Regions from separate parts of the Homo sapiens genome. Here regions 1, 2, 4, 5, 6 and 7 are each linked to region 3. Evidence: promoter capture Hi-C in 16 types of primary human blood cells and fetal thymus (Javierre and others, 2016). All regions are on one chromosome and are shown on one strand. Each heading gives the region's core, a stretch centred on a gene start or on the middle of the fragment in contact. The rest is flanking DNA. Distances are from core to core; before and after follow the strand shown.

Region 1 (3,092 bases), core at 209-2,708, 830 kb after region 3:
ATTTTTAAAAGCATTTAAGAAGCAGACTAGAGAGATGCACATCAAATTATAATGTAGAGGAAAGTCTTAAAATAATAACAATACTAGGCAAAACCCAGAGATATGAAAGTTATTAAAAATAATATGTATGAAGGAGACAAAGATGGCTCAACATAAGATTAACATGTGCCCACAGCAAATGGAGGAAAAAATGTACTTGATAAAAAAAAAGGAAGAAAAATACATAGATTAAAAGGATACACACTATGTTCTATAGGACAATTTATAGAAAAATCAACACCAAGACATGCAGCCTCATTAAGGCATTCAACTTTTCAGAATAAAGAGAGAATTTTTTAGGTACCTAGGCATGAAATGAACGGGGGAGTGGGATGAAGAAAAAACAATTAATTAGAGTACTTTAGACTCATCTATATAGCACATTCAGTACTGGAAGGCATTGAAAACATGCTGCAAAGTTCTGAAGGGGAATAAAATGTTTTAGAAGAAAATTATTCTGTAGCTTTTGTAAGTTGTCATTAAAATATAATTCAGAGTTGTGGGTGGTCTGTTTTTATTCTTGCTTGCACACCGCCATTTCTGAGCTCATCTCTTTCTCATATAACTTGACAAACAGTAGCAACTGACATGTTATTGTTTTCCAGCCTCTTCTCCCAACATTTAAATTCATTAGTTAAATCACATGCCTTCTAGGTTATCACAGAGTTTTCCAAAGATTTTTCCCAATAGGTTTGTTCCTGGGTGACATAGATCACTATCCTTTTAGCTTTCCACAACAGTTTCCTTGTTAATTGCTGCTTGACCACTTAGGTATGGTGACTTATATTTTAGATTTTTGTTATAGCGGTACCTAAGTCTGGACCAAAGTCTGTATACATCAGCATAAACTTTGTTGTGCTGTGGTAACAATCAACCCCAAAATCTCAGTGGTGTAAAACAACAATTTTTTTTTTGTACATGATACATGTCCATTGAGGGGTGTCTGGGGGCTATGCTTTATGTTATCCCCCTTCTGGCACTCAGGCTGATGATCTGCCATTATTTGGTCCATTTTTGATTTGTTTGATTTTAAATTGATTAATTATTGTGTATATTAATGGGGTACAGTTGATTTTTTGATAAATATTTACATTGTGGAATGATTAAATCAATCTGATTAACATATCCATCATTTCACATACTCAGAATTTTTTTGTGATGAGAACATTTAAAATCTGCTCTTTTAGCAGTTCTGAAATATATATTATTAATAACTAGTCACCATGCTATGTAATAGATCTATAAAACTTATTCCTCCTAACTGAAACTTATTGTATCCGTTGGACATCTTTCTGATCTCTATCCCTGTCCCACCCTCCAGCTTTGCTACCCTCTGGTAACCACCATTCTACTCTCTACTTTTATGAGCTTGACTTTTTTAGATTCCACATCTAAGTGGAGTGTTTCTCTTTCTGTGGCTGGCTAATATCACTTAGCATAATGTCCTCCAGGTTTATCCATGTTGTCACAAATGACGGCATTTTCTTCTTTTTTAAGGCTGAATAGTATTCCATTGTGTATATATACCACATTTTCTTTATCTGTTTCTTTATTTGTTAGAGAGTATGCAAAAACAAAGCTCTGAAAATCTTTAAGGAGTTCCTCATGAGCCTAAACTGAGTGCTGATCCTTGCATGGATTCATGGAAACTATGTAAGACTGAGGAAAGAACCACTGGAAATAAGCGGGCAGAACAATTCCTAGGGTTCACATAGGGCTAGGACTAATTCACATTCCCCGTATCTTGAGTGGAGAAACCTTAAAATAGCTGGAACATTGAGTTGAGTACTCAGAAAGGTACCTCAGTAGTGAAGAAAAGTTAGCCCTGGATGAAAGGCTGTTGTAATCTAGCTTAAGAGAGCATGAAACCAAGCCTCCAAAGAACCAGGCTGTTTCCAAATAGCTGTGTCCCAGAACAAAACTTAAAAATACTTAGAGGAATAAAAATAAAATTGTTTAGCAATGTAAAATCACAATGCCTGGCACCCAAGTCAAAAATTGCCAGATATGCAAAGATGAGTCCCATAATGAGGTGAAAAATTAGTTAAAAACAGAACAAGAAATGGCACAAATGAAAGAATTAGTAAACATAATAATTACATAAAATTAAAAGAACATTAAAGCAGTATATGTTCAAGAGGACAGAAGGAAGCCCAGGCAGACTGAGAAGGGACAAAGAAATATGAAAAAGAGATCCCAATTAGACTTCTAGAGATGAAAAGTACAATATCTAAGGTGAAAAATGGATGGAATAAAGAGCAGATTAGACATTAGGCAAAAGAAAAGATTAGCAAACTTAAAGATGTAGCAATGGAAACTGTGCAAAATAAAACAGAGAACAAAAAGATTTTTTTAAAAAGGAGAACTAGTGCACTGTGGGACAACTTTCAACAGTGTAATATACATGTAACTGGCATGCCAGAGGAGGGAACAAAAAATACTTGAAGAAACAATGCCTAAAAAAATTTCAAATGTGATAAGTATTATGCACCCACAGATCCAAGAAGCTCGGTGAACCTTAGGCACAAGAAACAGAAAGAAACTATGCCAAGTACATTGTAATCAAATTGCTTAATATCAGTGATAAAAAGCAAATATTAAAGCCAGCCAGATAAAAAAGACATATTACATATAGAGGAACAAAGATAAAAAAATCAACAGACTTCTTGTTGGGAACAATGCAAGCTGGAACATAGTGGACCCAAATCTTTAAAGTACCTAAAGAAAACAAAACTGCTAATTGAGAATTCTATACCCAGTTAAAATATTGTTCCACAATGAATATGAAAAAAAGAGATATAAAAGCTAAATTAATTAATCACCAACAGACCAGCACTGTTAAATGAAACATTCAGGCAAAGGGAAAATTATGTTGTAAGAAAATCTGGACCTACTCAAAGGGATAAAGAGCACTGAAAATGATAAAAATGTAGATGAATATAGAAGGCATCTCTTGTTTTAAAGACAATTGCTTAAAGGAAAATGTATAACGACATGCATGGGGTTTGTACTATAGATAGAATTAAAGTATATGACAACAAAATTATATATAG
Region 2 (3,048 bases), core at 179-2,678, 710 kb after region 3:
ATGTAAAGAATTGTATTTAGTTTTTTATTTCTCATTTGATGGGTGTAGTGTGTTTGAAGAGAAGGAGGCATGCACACATTCATGCAAAAGTAGTATCAAATTTAGATAGTTGTTGGACAAAGAGAAAATTCATACATTCAGACTGAGATGAGGTTTTGAATCCATTTTTTGGTATGTGAAAATATTATAATAGGTAGCTAGTCAGATACGAGTAGGGCCGGAAAGGGCGGCCCCCGATACACGCACACACACACACACGCACACACACACACACACACACACCAGGAGTGTCAGGCGACCATCCAGTGATGGTCAGGCAGCTGTTAACTGTCTCTCTAAAATAATAATTGGTTCCTGATATAATTCATCTCAATGTATTTTTTACATTTTACTGCCTGACTCCTTTTTTTAAGATAAATTTACTTTACACAATTTTTGTTTCTTTTAACTTTTATTTTAGGCTTGGGGGTACATGTGAAGGTTTGTTACATAGGTAAACACACGTCACAGGGGTTTGTTGTACTTACTATTTCATCACCCAGCTATTAAGCCTAGTACCCAATAGTTCTCTTTTTTGCTTCTCTCCTTCATGCAGACTCCAGTGTCTGTTATTTCCTTCTTTGTGTTGTAAGTTCTTATATTTAGCTTCCACTTACAACATGTGGTATTTGGTTTTCTGTTCCTATGTTAGACTCTTTTCATTAGGATCTAATAATCCAAAGACAGGGATTTTTTTTTTTCGGTCTATTATGGTCTCTGTTTATTCCCAGAACCTTGAACAGTGCCTGACACATGGTAGGTGCTGAATTTATATTTGTTGTATAAATAAACACATCAAAAAAACATTTTATTTGCTTCTACCCTGATGAGTTAACCTCACAGTGGTTACCCTTGTATTTTTAGTTTTCCATTCACATGTATCAACTCTACCTCTGGTAGATTATCAGCTCTGGAGAGGAGTCATCTATTTCTTTGTCTCCTAAAAGTGGCTATCTACGTGATCCAAAATATGCAGCAGAATTTGCATATATGTGCATGTTAATTGAGTGTTTGTGAAAATTGAGACTTGGATGCTGAAGAGAACAGGTAGGTTTCTCACCCCCTTGAAAATATTCCATTAAAAGCCTTCCCAAATAAACTCATGTTCTGCTCTTGGGACAAAATAAAAATACTTGGTTACCTATGAATCTAGTACTATTGTTTCAGTCTCTCTTCAGATTTAAAGAGTGAGGTTCATCGTCTGAGCAGTTTAATTACAAACAACCTCTCTTAATTCCTGTATTGCTGGAGCTCAGAGCACACTCAGATCAAGGGAGACGACGTGCCACTTTGTACAGGGCTCAGCCTTGTTACTGTTTATCTGAGTAAAGAGCCCTCTTAACCTCGAGGCCAAGCACATTAGATGTTTTGTTTCAATTGAGTTCTCTGCAATGGTCCAGATTTCTCTTCATTTCAGAAATCCTCAGCACCGATATTGGGAAACTCTTGGCGTTTGTTTCCCCATCAATGAATGGGCCTAACACAAAGGAGAGTAAGATTCTTGGCCGTGAAGGACCTGGGGTCTGGAATAGATGTGCTCCATCTGCCAAAGCATTTTCCCCATATGGCTGAGATTTTTTTCCTACTAAAAAAAAGAAAAAAAGAAAAAAAATGACAACAACAACAAAAAACACTTACTCAGCAAACTGCACAGCAAGTCATTTGTGCCAATAAAATGACAGTCATCTTCAAGGCCACAGGCTAAAAATATGAATTATCAGGTAGAAATTGGCTCTAGGATAAATATATTTTTCTTCATTCCCTACTCCTTCCCACAATCAATCTCTCTCCCTCTCACTCTCTTTCCCATCCACACATGTGTGTGCATACTCATGTGCACACTTGCACACTCATAAAAACTGGAGTTTCCAAAATTTCCCAGTTGGTTGAGAAGCAGAACCCAAAGTTGGGTGAGGAAAAATGACTCATTCCCCTAGGTTTGGTTTTTACTGCCAGAAAGCAGATTTTCAGGAAGGAAAATCATATGTCCCAAGCCATCACCAAAGTAAAATCAATCAAATCCCCAGTGTCTGCCTCAGAATCTCCATGAGTCTGTGGTCTAGAGTCAGGCAGTGACTAGTGGTTGTGTGAGCTCCAGAATACTTTGCTTCGTCTTGTGGGATGTTATTTTCTAACAGCTATTGACAATTTTCATTTCCGCGTGGCAGGGTCCATGTGGTCAAAAGAACTTGACCTAAGCCTTATAAAATCACCAATGTGATGTTTTTATTTGGAAGCATGTTTTGCTGAGGCCATCAGAGTGGAACTGAGAGTTTAGTGGGCTGTGGTTCAAGGAACCACACTTACATGATGGTTTACAAGCAACTCAGCCTTCTCTGAAGGACGGCCTGATTTAGCCATAAGCGAAGAGTCTGGGCTCTGGAAGTTCAGTCTGAACAAAGACTGAGATAGGAATGCCTAGGGCATTTTTTGGGTCTCCATCTCCTCACCTGTGAAGTCATATGGACAATAATTAGTAAACAGGAGCACTGAAAGGATTGGCATTTTTGAAATGTTAAATGTTGTTTTCTTCAGCTCCAGCAACAACTGTTTCTTGTGACTTTCTGTGGGACTCTGAGGAATGTTGGGATGATAATCACAGGAACCAATGGCTGCCTCTGGAAAGCCCATAATTCTGCACATTCATGGAGCTTCACTCTGATTCCAAATCCAGAAAGACCACCATGTCACTTATGGAGACACTTGAAATCCTTTCCACATCTTCACTCATCACGCCTGGGGTGAGAACTAGGAATACGTGAATAAACCAATAACACGTTACTGAAGTCAGTTTCGAGTTTTGCCTGCTATGAACTTAGAAACAACTCCATTTCTCTCAGCACTAGATGGCCTGTTCAGAGTGTATGTGTGTGTGTGTGTGTGTCCTCATGTGTGCAGAGACAGAAAGAGACAGAGGGAGAGAACGCAATATTTAGTTTTGAAGATATTACACTTATAATTATGCTTTCAGAAGCCTGTTTCTGGGAGTACCACAGAACAATGCAGTTA
Region 3 (3,099 bases), core at 528-3,027:
TGCCGCCTCTGAAAAGTAAATAAAGAATTGAGGTAGGGAGTCAAAACTTAGAAACCTGCAAGGGGATGAATTTCCTGGCTTTTTTCTTCTTTTCTTGTGGTTTGTCCTGAGGAGAGACCCCAGCTGGGAACTGTTGGGTGGCATGGGTAGCTAAAACTCGAATAGAAATCTCATCTTTCTGTGCTGAAAGGAAATAACGGTTAGCCCAGAACTCTATTTTCAGTGAAAATATTTTCAGGAATCAAAGTGAAATAAAGACATTCTCATATGAAGGAATGCCAGCTGACCTGCTCTAAAATAAATGCTTGGCGGGCCGGGCGCGGTGGCCCACGCCTGTAATCCCAGCACTTTGGGAGGCCGAGGCGGTCGGATCATGAGGTCAGGAGTTCGAGACCAGCCTGACCAACATGGTGAAACCCCGTCTCTACTAAATAAAAAAATTAGCCGTGCGTGGTGGCACGCGCCTGTAATCCCGGCTACTCAGGAGGCTGACGCAGGAGAATCGCTTGAACCTAGGAGGCAGAGGTTGCAGTGAGCCGAGATCGCACCATTGCACTCCAGCCTGGGCGACAGAGCGAGATTCCGTCTCAAATAAATAAATAAATAAATAAATAAATAAATAAATAAATAAATAAAAAAGAAATGCTTGGCGGGGCATGGTGGCTCATACCTGTAATCTCAGCACTTTGGAAGGCCAAAGGCAGGCGAATCACTTGAGGTCAGGAGTTCGAGACCAGCCTGGCCGACATGGTGAAAACTCGTCTCTACCAAAAAGCGCCACAACACTCCAGCCCGGGCGACATAGGCTCTGTCTCAAAAAAGAAAACAAACAAACAAAAAAAAAAGTGGGGGTGCGGGTGGGGGGAAGACTTAATGACTAAACGAATAAGTCTGGAGAGACGGGTTGCAAGGGATGATGAGACTAAGGTTTGTAGTCTGGGAGCCTAAGTGGATGAAAGTTGGAAGAATCAGGTGGAAAAGAACATTTCAAATAGACCACAAAGAAAAGTATATAACATTTTGAGGCTGTGGTACGCTTTGTTAAAGAGCAAAAGGAAAACAATTCCTCAAATCAGGGGGGAGGGATAGCATTAGGAGATATACCTAATGTTAAATGACGAGTTAATGGGTGCAGCACACCAACATGGCACATGTATACATATGTAACTAACCTGCACGTTGTGCACATGTACCCTAAAACTTAAAGTATATAAAAAAAATTCCTCAAATCGATGCCACGCTCCACTTCTTTACAACGATGGAATTATTTCAGGAATTGGAATTATTTCAGGAATTGTGTTTGAAACCACAGCTTTGGATCCCGATTTCTTTCTTGAGCTACTGTTACACTGTTTATATACGGCCACTAATTCGATGACTGAGCTTGGGCAGATTGTTAATTATTTTCTATGACTTAATCTTTCTATCTGTACAACGGGGATAACGTGGAATTTGGAGTGTTGTGAGGGTTGAGATAATATACGTGATAACTTACACAATGACGTTCAACAAATACTTGTGGAGTGAAAGATGCGCGATTCATTGACAGATCTCAGGGATTTCAGAAAGCTGTATAAGGACCAGCTCTTCAGGCTCCCTTCGCTCCCCAGGAGACCGGGGAGCCGGCGCGAGGCGCTACAGTGTAATTCTTGGCCCCTTTTCCTCATAATGGTTTGGCCGCATTTTTACCTCTTGATTTCCCTGGTCCCAGGCTGCAACTTCAGCTCGCTCCGCCATGGGGCGCACGTCCGCCAGCCTCTGTGAGCTCAGCTAAGTATGATGCCTAGGCTAGAGAGCTACGTCCGGTCTCCTAGGCAACCATATCAACTTCCGGCTTGAGGCACGATAGCGGTTGGCGAGAGGCCACATTTCCGCCACGTGACCCGCGCATGCGCCTGCTTGCTGGAGAGCGAGCGTCTTTTGCCACGAACACCTGCGGCGTGCCGAAGTTCCTCTTCTCTGCCCCGGTTCCGGGCGGTCCGCTGGGAGGTGGCGCCCGGAGGGACACCCGTGCCTGGGGTCGGGGCCAGTGCTCTTCTCGGAGCTCCAGAAGTTCTGCTGAGAAGCGCGGCGGCAGCAAGACGACTTCTCCGGAGCCGCCGAGCTGGAGTTAGAGGTGGAGCTCCGTGGGGCCGGGCCCCCGGCTGCGGGGCAGCGGCTCCTGCAGGCGGAGGCCCCGGCGGAGAATGAGCCGGAGCCGGAGGTGGTGGTGGTCTCCTGGCAGAGCGGTGGGACCGGGAGCAAGCTGCGGTGGTTCACCACCTTGATGCTGTGTGCCTCCTTCCTGGGGCTGGTGAGAGCCGGGGCTGCAACACTCCCAGGCCGGGGCGTTCGAGTCTTGCCTTCGCCACTTGCAAACTGACCTTGGGCGCGTTACCTAATCTGACTGGGCCTCAGTTTCATCATCTAGAAAATGGGCACAATTCTAATCTTGGAGGAAATAGATTTTCTGAATACGTCTTTCAGCTCCAGCAAGCTTTTTTTTTTTTTTTTTTTGACGGAGTCTCGCTCTGTTGCCCAGGCTGGAGTGCAGTGGTGCGATCTCGGCTCACTGCAACCTCTGCCCCCAGGGTTCAAGCGATTCTCCTGCGTCAGCCTCCCGAGTAGCTGGGATTACAGGCGCCTGCCACTAAGCCCGGCTAATTTTTGTATTTTTAGTAGAGACGGGGCTTCGCCATGTTGGCCAGGCTGGTTTCAAACTCCTGACCTCAGGTGATCCGCCCACCTCGGCCTCCCAAAGTATTGGGATTACCGGCGTGAGCCACGGCGCCCGGCCCGGCAAGCCTTCCTACGTCTCCTTCGTCGGATGGGAAGGTTGCAAGAGGGGTTCACCAGGTCTTTGGCCGCTGCTCTCCGCACCCACCCACTCAACCCCCAAATTATTACACAGAAAAACTACTTTTCTGGAATTTCTTCCTGGTGATCTGACCAAATTCAGCCAACCGCTTAATTTTGCAGATAAGGAAATAGGCCCGGAGGGGAAAGTGACTTTCTGGATCACACAGCTGGTTAAGTGATAGAGCCAGAAATATGTCTTTTACTCTGCCCACCATCCTATTTATTAATAAAACCAACCTTTAGATTCTTAAATGTTTTTCT
Region 4 (3,060 bases), core at 327-2,826, 900 kb after region 3:
AATTTCAGTGCAGGACCACATAAGTCTAAAATACTGTAAGTATATGTCTATTTATCCCGCATTGCCAGCTCTTTCTTCTGTATTGATTGCTTCCCTAGCTAGCATTCACAACCCAGAAATGCTCTACCATTTCAGACCTAAAAACTAAAACTAAACTAAAACCTTCAATTATCCACACATGTCCCTAATGTTACTACAATACTTTTCTGCTCTCTTCATAGCAACATATTTCAAAAAATGGAAGTTGTTTATATATGTTGTCTCTATTTTCTCTCACTTTATATTTCCTATTTTGACCTAGTCCTGTCTGATTTCTACTCCATTACTCTACCAAAAGAGAAGTTAATTACATCTAAGTTACTAAATCTAATGGACATCATTCAGTTTTCATCTGACCTTTCAGTTACCTTTCAGGTGACTGACTACTTCCTAAAAATCACCTTGTAACACAGGCTCTCTTGGTTTTTAATACAACCACAGACCTACGATTTTGCTTAAAGATCGTGCAACTGTGTAGACGGATGTTCCTGCAAACCCGTGAGTTTCAGCCTTGGCTGGCCCCTCAATGCTGCAAAGAGATTTGTTCTCCTAGTCACCCAAATAGTGATTCTAAACATTGTCATGATTCCTAAGCCAACATTTCCTTCACCCACCCCCATCTGATTGTAAACAGATCACTTTATTTTCTTTTTTATTTGGAGGTCATAAACTGTTAGTGGGGGACACTTCTTCCACACTTCTGATGTCTCCTTTATATGCAGGGAGCACAGTGAGTGAAACTCCAGACCTCTCTACCCCTTTCCTCACTCTACTCCTGTGAGAGGGGAGTGGTTGATTTTGTGGGTAAATTTGGGAAGAATAACTCTATAGGCTCTGCTCAACTCCACCCTTCTTTGTCCTGGGAGCAAGCTGCCAGCAGAAAGCCTGAGTTTTCCTGTGTTCCTCCATGTTAAAACTATTCTGGGCAGAACCCCCATCTAAGCCTTACGGTGTTGCCTGTCTGGGTGGGCACAGCTGCTTAATACTGGGACTGAATGTCAGCTACCCCACTTGGCTAAGAGACCTAAAGCCATGCCTGCTGCTTAGCTGCTTCAGAAATAAGGCAACCTCCTTGGTCTCTGTATTTACTATTTTATTTATGTTTCCACCTGTTTAGAACTTGGGTTCTGGAAAGGGTCACTATTTATTGGTTAACTCCCTCAGAGACTCCAAAACCAATGAACAGGTATTTCCCCAGCTTTTTGCAACCAGCCCCCAGCCCTTCCCCGCAAACTCTATAGATGTATTTATAGCTACACCTACACAAAAATTTCTCTCCAATTTTAAGAGGAAAATGTTCATTTTCTGTATAAAGCATGCTGCCCCATTGTCTTGGTAACCCCGTTATTCATTCTTGCTTTCTAGCTACTGACTCTTCTCAGATATAAACATGCTCAAGTATCTCCCGTCAAAAAACAAAACAAACAAACAAACAAACAAAAAACCTTATTCTTTCACTTTAGGCTCCCTTCTAGCTTTTTCTCTTGCTTTGACACAGTGCACTTTACAGAAATGTTTCTTGCCAAGATCACCAACACCTGGCCCCAAATCTCCAGATCCACTTGACATTTTCCCATCCTTATTTACTGGACCCATCTGTGGTTTGCTACAGTGTTGGCCACTGTCTTTGCTTAAAACTCTTTTCTTTTCCTAGCTTCTGTGACTATGCTATCTCCTGGGTCTCCTCTTTCCCTGACCAAGAAAGAGACCGTGAAACTTGGCATTTGACTCCCAGCCCTTTCCTCTCCCCTGAGTGATCTCACTTCTTTCTCTGAGGGCAGTCTTTGAGTATTCTAATCCATTCTCCACTGTCTTGCAGGAAAGGTAATCTTCCTATTAAGAAAATCTGACCATGTTATTTCCCTTCTCAGAATCAGCCAGTTGCTTTGCAGGAATGAGTCCAATTTCTAAGCATGACATCATCAGCTGACCGCTCTTCTCTCACCAATTTCATCAATTCTCATGACCCCCAACCTGCTATATCCCATGGTCTAATCTTGACCAACTGGTTGTTGTTTTAATGCTCCACAATTTTTTCTGGTCTCTTACCTCTGCAAATATTTTCCCTTTCTGGAATAATTTTCCTTTATTTTCTGTCTAATCTACCTGGAAAGCTCTACTCCTCCTTTCAAATTCAGCTCAAATATCACTTCCTTTTTGAGGCCATCCCTAACCTCCTCAGGATGAGTTAAGTGTTGCCATGTGTTTTTATTATTCATTCATGTGTCAAATGATTGTAATAATTTTAAGTGATTATTTAACTCATCACATCATACAATCCTAGGAGGCAGGAACTGAGTTTAACTTATTTTTGTAATCCCAGAATGTAGCACAAAGGGTTTGTAGTACAAAGGGTTTACTTTTATGGAGGCAGTATTAAACCTCTAGCCATTTTGGTTGGTCATCTGGGGAACAATACTTTGAAAAAAATGTTTTTAATTGTATAAGTGGAAAATAGACCATGGACATACCACTTTTACTCATTCATTCCATCAACAAATATTCCCTGTGTGCTCATTATGGACCAGGAACTCTTCTGGGGGTAGAATACCTTTGAACACAGTCTCCACTTTCAAGGAATTTACAGTTTAGTGGGAGAGATACAGGTAATAAACAAGTGATCAAACAAGCAAACAAGCTAATTTCAGGGAGTAAAAGATATTTTGAATAACATATGACAGGTGGGGTGGGATGAGGAGTGAGTGGGGTAAGGGGTTCATTTGGATGTCAGGGTCATAAGGACACCAGCCATTTGAAGATCTGAGGGCAGCAGGTGCAGAAATCCTGAGGCAGGAAATAAGTATGGTATATTTGAAAAATAGAGAGGAGTTTGTTGGGCTGGAGTGCAGTGAGTGAGAAAAGAGTTGGGTATGTGGTCAGAAAAGTGGGTCTGAGCTGGGTCATGTAGGGTCTCATGGGCCATGACAAAATGAGCTTGTTTCTTACTTTAAGTGCCACTGGGGAGTGTCTATAGTAGAAATAATGTTGGTTATGTTTTTAAAGGATTGTTCTGCTACTGCA
Region 5 (3,339 bases), core at 733-3,232, 730 kb after region 3:
AGAGCTATTTTTATTGAAGATCTCAAGAAGGACCAAGTCATTCATCAAGTGGAGCGGATGTGGTCAGGAAAAAGGACTGGCCAGAGAAAATCCATCTGCAGAGCCTCATCCTTATTGGTCATTTTTCCCCAAAAGACATCCCAGGATTCCTGTATCCTCTGAATGTGACCCATCGCCACCTTCATCATCAGCCTCATCATCATCAATGTTTACTTATTTTAACCAATAGATACACAATATAAAATTCTTGGATGAAGAATAGCATTTTTTGAACTCACCTTTAATACAGAGAAGTATGGAGAGGTTAAACAAATAAAAGGATAGGCTACAATCTCAATTTTGATAAATCAATTTTTAAAAACCTGTCAATGGTTATAAAATGCAAATATACAAATAGGTATATTTGCATAATTTGTTTATTTGCCGTCTGATTGATGGACACATCCTACTTATTTATTTTTTGGTATTACACATTTTATTGCTATGAATATCCTCAAATGAACAACTTGGTGAACTTTTAGACATATACCCATAAGTTAAAGTCCTAGCACTGGGTTGGTTGAGTTAAAGGCTGCATGCATAAAAATCATGGTAGGTCATAGTTACCCTTTATTGAATAACTAATTTGGGCCAAGAAAAGTTTTATATGTTATTTTTAATCCTCACAACAATCTTTCAAGGTCATTGATAGTATTAGTGATTACAGGTGAGGGTGAACTGAACTTCAGGGAGGAGGAGGCTGTTTTGACGAATGCCTATTAACCTCTGTAGGGAAGGCATTAGGTTCAAGAGGCTGAAGAAGAGACCCAGAGCCAGAAAACGAGACTTGGGGTTTTATTAGGGGATCACATGCAGGGGAGAGAGTCAATGACAGTGGGCTGGACAAGATATCTGTATGGTCTGGTGGCAGCAGGATGGGTAGGAGAACCAAAGCTGCTTGCAAACATCATGCAGTTTATACAGCATTTTCACTAACACCCTCCCCTTAATGACCTCCACCTCGCAATGTCCATTAAGGCTCCGGGCCTCAATCCTCTGTATGGCCCGTGTCCCACGGGATGGGCTGGGAGCTCAGATGTTACTCATAGACAAGGAATAAATCTCTGGATTGGCCACTCCTGGATTCCATAGCTGGGAGCACACATTCAGATGCATCTGTCATACAAGGTCATTCAGACTACAGGGACCTCCCCCGACCCTAGGTAACAGAGCTGAAGAGTGGCTGAACTAGAATTCAGTCCCGAGTCTTTCCAACTTGGAACTGACACAGTCATCTGAAGGCTACAAATAACGTTGAAGAGAAGATCATAAAGCTGGAGAATCCTGGCCATCTCTTAGTCCACACCTCACCCTTTCAGACGTGGCAGGGAGACCCTGAGAAGCTTAGTGTCTTGCCAAAGGCTATAGAGGTAAGATGGGACCGGGACCCTGCCTCCCAGGACAGCGACCTTTACAGTACACTAGTGGTTTTGTATGTCTGGGGCCACAGAAGCCCTTTTTCCAAAAAAGCTTGTGTACAACGGCTAAGCTCAGGTTGCTCTGCTTGAATCATGGGAGGAAGCCCCAGAGCCTGCTTCTGTCTTGTTTTCTACTTTTCTCTCTCCCAAGGCATTTCTGGGGAGCACGGTTTGAAAAACATCCTTTTTAATACTGTCTTTGAATGATTTTTTTGGTATGAAAATAAATTTTTAAAGTGAAATAAAAAAAAAAAAGAAAAACACTTGTCTATAGCACAGCTATCTCTGTGTGTGGGGTCCATCATTCTTTCTAGTTGCTTTGAGCAAACACAAAACCTCTAACTTCTTTTTTTAAAATGGAAGACTTGGGGGCCACCCTTTGTGCTGTGGTTTCTTTGGCCTTATCCCATTGTCCAGGGGAGGCATTGGTGATGGAGCTTGTTCATTTTTCTTGTGCTCATTGGATATGCGATCACAGAAGATGTATCTAGGACTCTGGAAGTCATAGAAACTCACTATTATTAGTCTGAGAAAAAAAATGGGGAAAGTATAGGGAAGAAAAAAATAATCCAAACATTGTTGGCTGGGTGTGGTGGCTCATGCCTGTGATCCTAGCACTTTGGAAGGCAGGAGGATCATTTGAAGCCAGGAGTTTGAGACCAGCATGGGCAATATAGTGAGACTCTGTCTCTACAAAAAGTTAAAACGAAATTGGCTGGGTGTGTTGGTGTGCACCTGTAGTCCCAGCTTCTCAGCAGACTGAGGTAGGAAGATCCCTTGAGGCCAGGAGTTTGAGGCTGGAGTGAGCTATGGTCACACCACTGCACTCCAGCCTAGGCGAGAGAGTGAGACCTTGTCTCTAAAACAACAGCATGAGCAACAATAACAACAACAACAATGAAGTTCATCTCCAATTTCTTATCCTGTCCTTCTCCAGCTGCCTCCCACCTGGGGTAGCCTCAGTGGAGAAGCACAGCTGCTAAACTAACAAGCGCAGTAAAGCTTCCTGGGCCGGATGCGCCATGAGAAGATGGGTAAAAACATTAGGAGCCATGCACCCATAAAGGAAACCAAACAGGAAATTTGATGTGAATCATCAGAAAGCACCCTGTATGGAGAGAAGGCTGTGGGGCTTAGTCAAAGACAAAGCACATGTTGTGTTGTTTAGGGATAGTGGATGGGAGAAATCATATTAGCTGAATCTATAATAAGATAGAAACATAGAGTGTCCAGATTCTTGTAAAGCAGATGGTAAATGAATTCTGCTCCTGGAGAAGGACAGTTTAAGGAATTGGAGATGAATTTCAGCTTTAGGTACTATAAGAAAAGGCCATATTGATTCACAAGACAGTGAAGCCAGGTGTTCTGTTTCCAAGGGGCTGTGAAAGCCTTTGGCAGACTGTGTAGCTTCGGTTCATTTTCTGTCCATTTATCCACTTATTTCTGTGGCACCTGCCACGTGGGGGCTGAGAGGCAGTTAGCATTATTACACCTGCTGGCAGGCAAGAATAATTGGAGTTGCACAAAGATAAGCAGGGTTCTGTTCAGTTAAGAGCATCGTCTGAAGTGAGTGAGGCTGTCTGCACACTGGGGTGCTTTGTGGGGGTCCTAAGAGTGGTCTCTCTGAGACAGATGGTCTCGTAGTCCCAAGTCACTACTCTAATTGGTTTCTCCCGCGTATGTAGGAGGTAACAGGGGAAGGTGGGAGCAGGTCATTAAGAACCTGTCACACTGACTGCAAAGTTAGAGAGGCTGAACACTGAGGAGAGACTGGGGCTTGTTTTCTCCCAAAGGACACTTTGGAGGCAACACTCACTGCCTCTTGCTCACACCAGCTACCACTCTGATCCTCAGAAATCACAACTTTTTGCAAGCCCATTGA
Region 6 (3,059 bases), core at 457-2,956, 790 kb after region 3:
CGTCTCCCAGCATCACCTCTTACCAGTGAGAACAAGGCAGGATCTCAAAAGGCAAGATAAAGCATGCCAGCAGCTTCCATCCTGTGCTTAGAGGATGGATAGGCGGGAACCCTAAAGGGCCTCACTAACTTCTTGAAATCCAGGAGAGGAGCAGGTGGAAGAAAAATACAGAGAACTCAATGCAAATTAATATATCAATCAATCATCCTGCTACTGATCATGGTGTCATTTACAGGCCATGCAGAGAGCAGCAGAGCATGGTAATGAAATTCTTGGAATCTTGGTTCTACCTCTTGCTAACCATGTGACCTTGCCCCAGTTTCCTAATAAGTAAACCAAAGATGGTAATCACAGAACACAGGCCCAGTGTTGCTGAAGGATCAGAGGAGTTAATACATATACAGCACTCAGTACAATATTGAGACACAGTGACACTCGGCCAATGTTAGCTCTTATTATTATTATACTTTTTTTTTTGAGACAGGATTTCTCTCTGTTTCCCAGGCTGGAGTGCAGTGGTATGATCATAGCTCACTGTTGCCTCAACATCCTGGGCTCAAGCAATCTTCCTGTCTCAGTTTCCCAAGTAGCTAGGACTACAGGTATGCACCACCACACCTGGCTAATTTTTTTACTTTCTATTTTGTAAAGATGGGGTCTCACTATGTTGCCCAAGCTGTGTTATTGTTACTATATCTCTATTTCACTGGAGCAAATATTGACCCCCCTCATAGCACACATTCAATACATTACTTCCACAAACAATATCTTCTCTTTTCTCAAGGATGTCAATACACCCTTCTCCACAATCAGTAAGATAGGAAGATAAGGAAAGAGGGGATGAGGAAAGGAAGACTCATACTGTACTAAGCTTGCTGACCACAGGCATGAGCTCCAAACACTGCCTGCCCGGACGGCTGGTACTCCCAGGAGAAGGGACTATTCTAGCTGTGATGACGCTCCTAACAGAACGATTTTAGGAATCTTACGGGAAAGGAGTGGGGTGTGCTCTGTGCGGGGGAGCTCACCACCATTAGAGGTGTGCATCTTGCCAGTGGAAGGAGTCCTGGACTGGCAGTTGTCTCCCGACTCTTCATCTAGCTTCATCTCTTGACTAAGTATCACTTCCTCAGATGTCCTCTCTGCCCCCAATCTAAATTAGCTCTCACCTGTCATTCTCTCTTATAATTTCTTCTTTGCTCTTATTAGCCTTTATTCAACTTTCAATGACGGACATTTTGTGTGTTTATTTGTTCAGCGTCTTCTCTCCCAGTAGATTATTTAGCTGTAGAGGGCAGAGATTAAGTGTGTTTTATTGACCAAGTATAATCGCTTAGCTTTCACTTTTTAATCTGTTAAATGAGGTTGGTAATACTGCTTTTGCCCACCTCACTGAGCTGTGAAATTAAAAATGTAATACACAGGAAACTTCTTTGTAAATCATAGAACATGGTGCACATTGAATTATGCTTAGCGCCATGTCTATTGGAACGTACATCACAAACTGAACACTTGTGAAATGAGCTCCTAGACAGATTAGCATTCTGTTAAATGAGATAATAGGGAAACATGCTCAGAACAGGACACACACTGTGAAAGCTCTTATTGTGTAAGGTCAAAAATAGCAGCCCCGACCTCTAAAACTACCATATCCATGGAGTCCACACACAGTCGGCTGGAAAGAGTTAAATAGGAGCTCCCACAGCCAAAGATGTCTAAACACATGTGGGAGTGAGTAACCCAGCGCCAGTGTGTTCTGGAGCTGGGGGAGGTTTTGCAGGTCACTTTTCAAGCAAGATGTTCCTTTCCTACCAAGAGGCAAGGATGGTCAACATCTATCTTCCCCTGCTCCACGTCAGTGAGACTGCAGAGGGATGGAAGACGATTCCAGAAAAATGCCTGCTGCCGCCAGCATTTCACAGACAGCAAACGGGAGGAGGGTGAAACTCCTTAAATTCAAAAATTGCACTGATATGTGCATTACTATATGTGGAACCGGGGGAGAGCTGGAGCTGGAGAGATACAGTTGATGAATACCCCAGTGTTGGGATGCGACTCCTCTGCTTTTCATAGACAAACCAGAAACATGAAATTATCCATCCTGACAGCCGGTGTGGTGTGGGAATCACAGGCTGGTACCCACAGACCAATGGTGATAACCAGGAAGATAAAAAGACAAAGATCAGATTGGACACTGATGGGTCTTGACTCTTTATCCAATTTGCCAGTCTGTGTCTTTTAATTGAAGCATTTAGTCCATTTACATTTAAGGTTAATATTGTTAAGTGTGAAGGTTAATATTGTTATGTGTGAATTTGATCCACATTATGATGTTAGCTGGTTATTTTGCTTGTTAGTTGATGCAGTTTCTTCCTAGCATTGATGGTCTTTACAATTTGGCATGTTTTTGCAGTGGCTGGTACCAGTTGTTCCTCTCCACGTTTAGTGCTTCCTTCAGGAGCTCTTGTAGGGCAGGCCTGGTGGTGACAAAATCTCTCAGCATTTGCTTGTTTGTAAAGGATTTTATTTCTCCCTCACTTATGAAGCTTAGTTTGGCTGGATATGAAATTCTGGGTTGAAAATTCTTTTCTTTAAGAGCATTGAATATTGGCCACCACTCTCTTCTGGCTTATAGAGTTTCTGCCGAGAGATCCGCTGTTAGTCTGATGGGCTTCCCTTTGTGGGTAACCCGACCTTTCTCTCTGGCTGCCCTTAACATATTTTCCTTCATTTCAACTTTGGCGAATCTGACAATTATGTGTCTTGGAGTTGCTCTTCTCGAGGAGTATCTTTGTGGCGTTCTCTGTATTTCCTGAATTTGAATGTTGGCCTGCCTTGCTTGGTTGGGGAAGTTCTCCTGGATAATATTCTGAAGAGTGTTTTCCATCTTGGTTCCATTCTCCCCGTCACTTTCAGGTACACCAATCAGAGGTAGATTTGGTCTTTTCACATAGTCTCATATTTCTTGGAGGCTTTGTTCGTTTCTTTTTATTCTTTTTTCTCTAAACTTCTCTTCTCGCTTCATTTCATTCATTTGATCTTCCATCACTGATACCCTT
Region 7 (3,347 bases), core at 420-2,919, 810 kb after region 3:
TTCTATATAAATGATTAGTTTAGTTCAGTGTAGTATTAATTAGACAGTTTTCTAAAAGACTAGATTAAAACAAATGGAAGAAATCTGGTCTCACTGATAGTCTCATTCTCAAATATAATTTTTGTATTTTAGATTTTAACATATTATGAAAGTTAACATTAAGATCACACTGTTCTGATCAAATTCCCTAATTTTTATTTCAATGTCTGTTAGAAATGATGAGGCAAGAACAAGGGAAAAGACAACTCAACAGGAACATAAGCTTAGGTTTAGTATTCAGAGGACAGGCAAAGCAGAAAAATGCAAATGAGTAAATCTTCTCAGTTTTTCAAAGATAAAGTATTTTTATTCCTCCTAAGAGACTGGACTGTAATACTTGATTGAAAGTTAATTTTGGGGTTGGGAAAGAGGGAGATAGAGTGATAAATTAGACCATCGGCTTCTTTTATTCTGAGTTATATTATACAAAAATACTCAGATTTCTTAAACATTAAACATGATTAAAAATTATCTATTTATACAAGTACATTTATATGTATACATATGTACTTTTCTCCCTTTGTTTTAGCTTATAGAAATCTCCCACTTATTTGGAAAAAAAAATGTCTTGTGCAAGCAACAAAATGGACTCCCTGCTCCAGAACATGTGGGATGGGAATATCTAACAGGGTGACCAATGAAAACAGCAACTGTGAAATGAGAAAAGAGAAAAGACTGTGTTACATTCAGCCTTGCGACAGCAATATATTAAAGACAATAAAGGTAAAGTTTAAATATATTTAACTTAATTCAATATTAAGAGATTCCTGAAAAGTAAGCATGTGTGTGTTTTGGAGGGTGGGATGGTGTTTAGTTCTTAGAAAAATAAAAGCATCTCATTATAATGCTTAAAGTCAAACTATTTCAGAGGAAAACAGGTATTAACTGCATGTTGTGGGGAAAATTTTACCAACCAGAGCAGATTCTAACTTCTTTTTTCTATGTTAATGAATAAAAGATTTTGGTTGCTACACTATAATTATGAAAACAGATATTATGAACATCAGAGTAGAGAAGTCCTGATCTTAGTTATATATCACTAACTTGGAAGGAAGCCACACCATTTCCAAAATGCTCTATGCTTACATAGTAAACTTGCTAAAACACTATGATAAAATATTTACCCTAAGATTGTTTGGTATAACTAGAGCTGGTCCTGCTTCTTGAATGAGGCAGTAAGTCTGTCTCAAAAAGGGTAATTTTTAGAAATGCTACACAATCCTTCTACCCCAAAGTTATTCTCTATCATATTAGCAAGTTGACAATTCAGTTTTAAAGAAAGATTAGGATAATTATTCATCTATGCATCCACTGAAAACTGTCTGGGCTGTGTTATGGAATTTGCTAAGTCTTAGATAAATATTTAATAAGACATGGCTCTTGATATTAAACAAAACAGAAATTTCTATTTATTGTAAAATTGAGTCAAGAATAGATAGCAAAAAACATTGAGGAGTACGTGCTATAATATGATGAAGAATAGAGAGGACAGACCTCTGATAAGAAGGGGATCTTAAGGGTAAAGAGAGTGCTGGAAATCACTACATAGCAACTTTTATTAATGCCTCCAAATACTCAGATTTGTACTATAAACTATTCTACATGTTTTCAAAACTATTGTAATAAAATTTAAAGAATGACTTCATTTTATCTATCTTTTCAGATTCCCAAAGGAAAAACATGCCAACCTACTTTCCAACTCTCCAAAGCTGAAAAATTTGTCTTTTCTGGATGCTCAAGTACTCAGAGTTACAAACCCACTTTTTGTGGAATATGCTTGGATAAGAGATGCTGTATCCCTAATAAGTCTAAAATGATTACTATTCAATTTGATTGCCCAAATGAGGGGTCATTTAAATGGAAGATGCTGTGGATTACATCTTGTGTGTGTCAGAGAAACTGCAGAGAACCTGGAGATATATTTTCTGAGCTCAAGATTCTGTAAAACCAAGCAAATGGGGGAAAAGTTAGTCAATCCTGTCATATAATAAAAAAATTAGTGAGTATAAAATGGTGGCAAATCTACTTTGTTTAAAACAGTATGAATGCCTATTCTCAGATCACTACATTTAAGGCATTAGAAACTTTTAAAAAGTTATCTTAAAAATATACATAAAATTTGAACAACTTAAAAATTGAACTAATTTCTAAAATATATCCTATAATTATATAATACACAGACATTTGTTACCATCTAAGCATTTTGTATATGAAAAAATTATGCAATTTACAAGAAAATATTTTACAAAATAATCTGGAATACTTGCTAAAGCTGTATAAAAAGTATACTAAATTTTAGGCTGGGCGCAGTGGTTCATGTCTGTAATCCCAGCACTTCGGGAGGCCAAGGTGGGCAGATCATTTGAGGTCAGGAGTTTGAGACCAGCCTGGCCAACATGGTGAAACCCTGTCTGTAATTAAAAAAATACAAAAATTAGCCAAGTGTGGTGGCATGCGCCTGTAATCCCAGCTACTCGGGAGGCTGAGTCAGAAGAATTGCTTGAACCCAGGTGGTGGAGGTTGCAGTGGGTCAAGATTGCACCACTGCACTGGCACGGAGAAGCGAGACTCCTTTGGGGGAGAAAAAAACATACTCAATTTAAAAAATTTAATCTATATTTGACAATGTAGCCTAAGGTGCCCATTAGTTGATACATCATTATAGGGCAAGTGAAATTCTAGATTAATTCTTGAACAGAAATAAGATTAAGCTGTAAATATATTTAGACTTTTCACTGCCTGATCTTGAATATCAGTTTCTTTTGGAAAGGAGAAAATGCAACTTTTCTGGCCACTGTTAACAACTGCAATCTAAAATTTTTTACATCAAATATTGTAAAAAGTTAAATTTCCAAGACAAAGACCAAGAACAGTATCATTACTTTGCAAAGGAAAGAAATATAAAGAATACAACTTAAAATTAACCTGTGGATCTGAAATATAAAATGTTATTAAAAATAAATTAATGTTAAGGCTAGAACTGAAGATTATAGTAACCGGAACAATTATAGCCATTTATTGCAAAGTTTGGAAGATATCAAGCTTAGTAACATTCTGTTCATTTGCATAAATGTCATGCAGAACAATAACAAGTAGCACTGTTGAAAAATATAGACATTTATTATAAAATCAATTGGTTTGATAAGAAAGCAATTATTTAAAAAGTTTAATACAAATACATGTTAAGTGTACAAATTAGGATTCTTTTGGGCAAACAAGTTGTTATCTAAAGAAGAAGCAAAACCTCCTTAACAGTTGTAATAAAACCTATGCCTGAAAAGTTGGTGGCTATTACACGGAAATATTTA

What was found. The method cuts DNA at HindIII sites, captures the fragments that hold promoters and counts their contacts. A CHiCAGO score of 5 or more calls a contact.
Region 1: a fragment that was not itself captured here is called in contact with the fragment with the promoter of SLC60A2-DT in region 3 in 5 of 17 cell types (non-activated CD4 T cells, fetal thymus, total CD8 T cells and 2 more); the score reaches 7.1 in non-activated CD4 T cells.
Region 2: a contact is called between a fragment that was not itself captured here and the fragment with the promoter of SLC60A2-DT in region 3, in 1 of 17 cell types (neutrophils). The highest score is 5.5, in neutrophils.
Region 4: a contact is called between a fragment that was not itself captured here and the fragment with the promoter of SLC60A2-DT in region 3, in 2 of 17 cell types (total CD4 T cells and activated CD4 T cells). The highest score is 6.8, in total CD4 T cells.
Region 5: a contact is called between a fragment that was not itself captured here and the fragment with the promoter of SLC60A2-DT in region 3, in 1 of 17 cell types (neutrophils). The highest score is 6.1, in neutrophils.
Region 6: a fragment that was not itself captured here is called in contact with the fragment with the promoter of SLC60A2-DT in region 3 in 1 of 17 cell types (total CD8 T cells); the score reaches 5.1 in total CD8 T cells.
Region 7: a fragment that was not itself captured here is called in contact with the fragment with the promoter of SLC60A2-DT in region 3 in 5 of 17 cell types (total CD4 T cells, activated CD4 T cells, naive CD8 T cells and 2 more); the score reaches 9.3 in total CD4 T cells.

The regions. Positions count from the first base shown.
Region 1 is chr6:112,089,662-112,092,753 of GRCh38, forward strand. All of the region lies in intron 1 of FAM229B (family with sequence similarity 229 member B), which reads left to right. Among named protein-coding and RNA genes, the nearest start is that of FAM229B, 3.6 kb to the left of the region's middle. The HindIII fragment of the contact is 6,017 bases long and covers 1-3,092 here.
Region 2 is chr6:111,970,042-111,973,089 of GRCh38, forward strand. No RefSeq gene overlaps it. Among named protein-coding and RNA genes, the nearest start is that of LINC02527, 62 kb to the left of the region's middle. The HindIII fragment of the contact is 4,920 bases long and covers 1-3,048 here.
Region 3 is chr6:111,257,435-111,260,533 of GRCh38, forward strand. It overlaps SLC60A2-DT (SLC60A2 divergent transcript), which reads right to left and starts at 1,778. Exons shown (of 3, transcript XR_001743807.2): 1 at 1,690-1,778. SLC60A2 (solute carrier family 60 member 2) reads left to right here and starts at 1,905. Exons shown (of 4, transcript NM_153369.4): 1 at 1,905-2,293. The coding sequence starts at 2,267. LOC124901378 (a long non-coding RNA gene) reads left to right here. Exons shown (of 2, transcript XR_007059708.1): 2 at 1-276. RefSeq lists enhancers at 1,555-1,614, 1,935-2,014. The HindIII fragment of the contact is 14,878 bases long and covers 1-2,474 here.
Region 4 is chr6:112,158,987-112,162,046 of GRCh38, forward strand. All of the region lies in intron 13 of LAMA4 (laminin subunit alpha 4), which reads right to left. Among named protein-coding and RNA genes, the nearest start is that of FAM229B, 73 kb to the left of the region's middle. The HindIII fragment of the contact is 6,360 bases long and covers 1-3,060 here.
Region 5 is chr6:111,990,570-111,993,908 of GRCh38, forward strand. It overlaps LOC105377947 (a long non-coding RNA gene), which reads left to right. Exons shown (of 3, transcript XR_007059710.1): 3 at 1-337. Among named protein-coding and RNA genes, the nearest start is that of CCN6, 62 kb to the right of the region's middle. RefSeq lists an enhancer at 2,419-2,568. The HindIII fragment of the contact is 950 bases long and covers 1,508-2,457 here.
Region 6 is chr6:112,049,288-112,052,346 of GRCh38, forward strand. No RefSeq gene overlaps it. Among named protein-coding and RNA genes, the nearest start is that of CCN6, 3.3 kb to the right of the region's middle. The HindIII fragment of the contact is 1,675 bases long and covers 870-2,544 here.
Region 7 is chr6:112,067,637-112,070,983 of GRCh38, forward strand. CCN6 (cellular communication network factor 6) reads left to right here. Exons shown (of 5, transcript NM_198239.2): 4 at 569-762; 5 at 1,703-2,050. The coding sequence ends at 1,984. TUBE1 (tubulin epsilon 1) reads right to left here. Exons shown (of 12, transcript NM_016262.5): 12 at 3,027-3,347. Among named protein-coding and RNA genes, the nearest start is that of CCN6, 15 kb to the left of the region's middle. The HindIII fragment of the contact is 2,819 bases long and covers 261-3,079 here.